Regions from separate parts of the Homo sapiens genome. Here region 1 is linked to region 2. The links are contacts of gene promoters, found by promoter capture Hi-C in blood cells and fetal thymus (Javierre and others, 2016). All regions are on one chromosome and are shown on one strand. The core of a region is centred on a gene start or on the middle of the fragment in contact, and the rest is flanking DNA. Distances in the headings are between cores, read along the strand shown.

Evidence for each region. The method cuts DNA at HindIII sites, captures the fragments that hold promoters and counts their contacts. A CHiCAGO score of 5 or more calls a contact.
Region 1: a contact is called between a fragment that was not itself captured here and the fragment with the promoter of CCDC182 in region 2, in 7 of 17 cell types (naive CD8 T cells, total CD8 T cells, naive CD4 T cells and 4 more). The highest score is 9.0, in naive CD8 T cells.

What each region holds. Positions count from the first base shown.
Region 1 is chr17:57,210,928-57,213,627 of GRCh38, reverse strand. No RefSeq gene overlaps it. Among named protein-coding and RNA genes, the nearest start is that of MSI2, 44 kb to the left of the region's middle. The HindIII fragment of the contact is 2,683 bases long and covers 19-2,700 here.
Region 2 is chr17:57,744,018-57,746,717 of GRCh38, reverse strand. It overlaps CCDC182 (coiled-coil domain containing 182), which reads left to right and starts at 1,419. Exons shown (of 1, transcript NM_001282544.2): 1 at 1,419-2,223. The coding sequence starts at 1,446. The coding sequence ends at 1,907. The HindIII fragment of the contact is 19,296 bases long and covers 1-2,700 here.

The sequences.
Region 1 (2,700 bases), core at 111-2,610, 530 kb after region 2:
TAGTAACTTGCCCAAGCTTAAAGAGCTCAGAAAGGCAGAGCCAAGATTTGCTCTTAACAGTTGTGGTTTTCTGCCCAGCATCCACTCCCTTCCTTTTGGATGACAACACCTGGATTTTCCTTCAGGGAACCACCCTTCTCACATTTGGTCCCCGCAGTTCAGTTGGAACTGACTACCCAGGCCTGGTCCGAGGACTGAGAGGTTGACCCAGGCCTGGCCACTCAAGCTCCTGGATGCACTGATTGGCTCAGACGTGAGCATGTGACCTTTAAGAGACCAATAGGATTTAAGTCTGAAGGTTGGCTTTTTTTGTTGTTTTTGTTTTTTGTGGTCGTTGTTTTTGTCAGTTTTGGGGAAAATGAGCTGTCTTCTCACTCAAATTGGAACTGTTGGCTATAGAGATAAAGTAATCCTGGAGATTTGGGAGGGTCATCTGTTGTAGAGAATGACACCAACCAGAAGCAGAATGAGGAAAGTTGGAGACTGAGTACTGTTGCCATGATTTGAACCCTTCGATCTAGCCATGCCTGAAGATTTCTCACTGTCTCGTCTTTTCAGTTACAGAAGCCTCAACTTGGCTTCTCACACTTGCAAAAAGGAGTCCTAGCTGATACAGGGGTACAGGCCCCTAACCCAGTAAGTATTATACCAGTTGAGTGATGAGGGCTGAAATAAATGTGGAGGGGCCAAGCACAGTGGCTCACACCTGTAATTCCAGCACTTTGGGAGGCCAAGGTAGGAGGATCACTTAAGCCCAGGAATTCAAGACCAGCCTGGGCAACATAGCAAGACCCCATCTCTACCAAAAAAAAAAAAAAAATCAACCAGGCATGGTGGTGCACAACTGTTACTCCAGCTACTCAGGAGGCTGAGGCAGGAGGATCACTTGAGCCCAGGAGTTTGAGGCTGCAGTGGGCTAGGATAGTACCACTGTACTCCAGCCTACATGACAGAGCAAGATCTCATTTCTAAAAATAATAATAATACAAATTAAATTAAAATAATAAAGTAGATGCGGGTATTTAGGGTGCACTTAAATAGCACTCAGTATATGTTTAAAGTGAGATGTTTTTCACTTTCTTCCTTTTCCCATCCTAAGTCTGAAGCCAAATCTCCGGGAAGATATGTTTACACTAAGAGAGAGAGAGAGTCATGGATTACCTTCATGCCAACACTGACCAAGCCAGTCATCCTTCACTGGGGGGGTTGGATGGTTGTACCCAGTGTCATGAAAGATTATCACAAAAGACCTGATCTCAGGGACAACAATAACAACAGCAAGAATTATTTAGGTTCTGGAATACATTTCATCTGAGGTTTACGAAGCCTTTGACAGCAAAATTAAATCTGACATCACTCCCCAGGTTAACAAAGCAATGTTGCAGTCTTCGCAGTGGAGTGAGCTCAGACACTTGAGGGCCCTCTGTCTCTGAGGGTTGGAGTCACCTGCTTCGGCTGGGCTCTTGGTGCCCCAGTGACCTCCAACAGCGACTTGTCATGAGGGGGTAATGCAGCTCTTGGAACAAAAGGAATAACATACACAGGACCTCAACCAAGCCATGGGCTCAATCAAACCCATCCTTGGGTTTAACTCCTTGGCCACAGGACGATCTCATCCTTACCCCTCCCCAACCAGGTTCAGAGAGAACTTCACCACCTCACTGTCTTGTGAAGGTCAGATTTCAGAATCAGTAGGTAGGTTAATTAGACCACTAACGCCCTTTGAAAGGAATGTAACAGCTGACATTAAGATCTTCACAAAAGGTCATATATTTTTCTCTCCATTGGAGAGGACAATTCCCACATTCAGGCAGCAGAGGCATGAGAGCATTAGCATTCACGACCAACTCCAGAACTATGTAAATAACCACACTGTTTAGCACCCTGGCCCATAGGCAGTTCACCCTCTTCCATGACTAAAGGTGACCATCACACTTAGTGTTTGTATTGCTAAGCACGGTGAGGTCATATTTCCCCTCCAGAGACGGAGACAAAAAGGGGGAAAAAAAAACCCCACACTTTTTCTCCCTGATAAATCTGAAGCTGTAATAAATCAGAATTTAGATCTTTAGTGAATAATTCATGTTTATCTAAAGGAAAAAAATAATGAGTTTCATTATATTTCATCTTCCTTTTACTAAGTTTTGGAAACTGATTCCCTGGACTGGAGCTTCCAGAAATCCATAGAAGTTTTGCCTGATGGCTCACCCTTGAGGGTGCCTCCTGGGACCTCCACTCTCCCTGCCTGGCTCTCTTTGGCTCCCCTAGGATTATGGGGGGTGGGGGCAGTGCAGGAAGAGTCTGGGCTAGTCATGGTACTGGCTGTGTCAGACGCCTAGAGCTGACTCTTCTCTCAGGGCTAGCATGGGATGCTGGAAGTTCCCCTCCTGGGCCCTATGACTGCATCCTTTAACCCAGGTAGGAGGTCTCGTAGGCTAACTGCTATGATCTCCCTCCCCCTCCGTCAGGCACTTGACAGTATGCCCTCCACCTTTTTCTGCTGAAGTCTCCTTGCTCCATGCAAGAAGTTCAGTGGGCAGGGTTCTTTTAAAGCAACCCCACCCTTCCTGAGTTATTTGGAAGAGCACACTTTTGACCTTTGTAGTGGTGCAATGATGGCTCAAACACAGTGATTTCTTCTGCCACAGGGAGCTGCAGCCACCCTCTCCTCCAGTAAACACTTTTCCTTCTCTTCCAAGC
Region 2 (2,700 bases), core at 170-2,669:
CTAAGTTTCTTAGTCTATTGTGTGCTGCTATAGTAAAATACCCGATGCTGGGTAATTTATAAAGAACAGAAATGTATTTCCTTACAGTTCTGGAGGCTAGGAAGTCCAAAATCAAAATGCTGGCATCTGGCAAGGGCCTTCTTGCTGTGTCATTCCACAGCAGAAGACATCACATAGTAGAAGGGCAAAGAGAGGGTGAGAGAGAGACATAAAGGGGCTGAACTTATCCACTTATAAGGAACCTGCTCCCAAGATAACAGTGTTAATCCATTTATCTCTTAAAGGGTAGCCTAATCATCTGTTAAAGGTCCTTCCTCATAATCCTGTTACAATGGTAATTAAATTGCAACATGAGTTTGGGAGGGGACAAATATTAGCATCACAGCACCAGTTGTCTCATGAGGGCTCTGGTGTGTGTGCTGTTCTGGGTTGCTCTCATTAATCTGACAGCAACACTGGAACAGGAACTGGTTTGGGTAAAGAGATCACCAATTCAGCTTTGGATGGCTTGAATTGGAGGCCCATTGTGGGGGAGACGTTTAGATTTGGAGACCAGGAGAGAAGTCTAGGCAAGAGACTGAGATGTGCAAGATGAAGGTTTGTTCCTGACTAAACCAAATGTAGATTAGCTAGAAGTATTTTCCTTTGTTCTAATTATCAGGTAAAAAGTACAAGATTTACCTTTCTATGTGTTGTTTCTCATATTTGTTAACATTCAGGTATGTTGGAAGACCATGCACTCACTTGTTCCCTGATCCTAGTGTGTAGTGAGCACTTAGTATTTATTGAATAAATATGACTAACCCATTTTTACCTTGCACCTGCTGAATCAGCCATTGCTGTGGACCATACATCAAAATCTAAGTACATTTTTCGCAATTTCTAAGATTTTATAGAATTCTGACATCATTATAGGAGTATGGACTTGGAATAAGAGATTACTTTTTAGCATTTTAGAGCTACAAGTGGGATTAGGTATCATCTCTTACAATGTCTTTGTTTTACTAGTGAGGTACTAAAGCCCAGAGACCAGTCCAAGACCATGCAGGTCCCTTGCCAGTGTGGGAGACCACCCAGTCCTGGCAGCCAGTGAGCCTGGCCTGGCCTGCCTTGCTCTGGCCAGTTTACTTCCCTGCTCTGGGACTTGGTTTGTTCCTTAGGTTAAAGAAGAACTTGAGTTCTGGTTCTAGAAGGGTGATGAGTTAAGGATCCACATCTCAGGAGGGCGACTTGGTCAGATAAACAGACAAAGCTCTAGGTAACCAACCAAGGAAGCTACAATATGCAAATGAATGGATTGTGGCTTTCTTTCTGGTTGGCTGAAGGGGCCCTGATGTCACAATTCTAGGGTTTCTCCACTCCGAATGATCGTGTCTCTAGCCAAAAATATTTATTGACCTGGTTGGTCTCTTGGCTTCCTCTCTTTGTCCAACGTAGAAGAGACAATGGAACCCCTCTACCAGGCTGGGTCCATTCTCATGACGGTGAATACCCTACAGGGGAAAAAAATGATAGAGAGTGGCCTCCAGTCTGGAGACTTTTCCCTGTCCCAGTCATGGCCCTCCTGCCTCCCACCACCCGCTGACTTGGAGATCCTGCAGCAGAAGGTGGCCGGGGTGCAACGGGAACTGGAGGACTTTAAGAAAGAGGCATTGAAGTCCATTCATTACCTTGAAGACGCCTTCTGCGAGATGAATGGAGCCCTGGTGCAACAGGAGGAGCAGGCGGCTCGCGTGAGGCAGCGGCTAAGGGAGGAGGAGGACCGTGGCATCGTGCGCAACAAGGTTCTCACCTTCCTGTTGCCGCGCGAGAAACAGCTCCGGGAGCACTGCAAGCGGCTGGAGGACCTGCTGCTGGACAGGGGACGTGACGCCCTGCGTGCCACCAAGAAGAGCCAGGCTGACTGAACCTCGTGGGTGGCACTAGCCAAGCACCAAGTTGAAGATTTTTTTTAACGGAAGGAGAAACCCCAAGTCCCTACCCCCTTGCTTTCCCTTCCTCATTTCCATTGCTTTCCTTCTGCCTAAATAACACCTTGCTGAGAGGCAAAAAGACTTCAATATTTTTTTTGGTGAAATTCCATTTATCCAGCATTCTAAAGGAAGGAGGCACCCCAGTACTGAGTCAGGCCCCTGTAACTTTCACTTGAACTGTTTTCCTGTTTGTAATGGTACTATTGCTCAATGTATACCTCTTTATTTGTATAGTATATTCTTAAACTGATTGTGTTGAACATTCACCTTTTTTTTTTTGAATGATTTGAGGCTTTCATGATTTGAGACTTAACACCTGGTCAACTGATACCACATCACGTAACACATGATCTCCCCAGAGGGGTCGGACTGCTTGCCCGTGCACTAACACTACCCCAGATTGCTCTGTTTTTAGTATTCTAACCCTTGTCTGTATGGTCTTTCTGTCTGCCTCTACTCTTAGACTGTCACATCTCACTTTTCTTTGCTGCCTCTTTCTACCTCTACTTCCTTTCCATTTAGACTGCAGACTGGCCAATCGGAATGACAGAGCTTATTGGGACTGTGTGGGTGGAACTCGCTGAGCTTTAGCAACCGATAATGCAACACCTCTGAGATGGCACTAGGAAGTGGGGAAACTGATTTCTGTGTTCGATCCATGGAGCAGGAATTATTGTCACAGTGCCTGGCCATTTATCAGGCAACACACACATACCATCCCACTTAC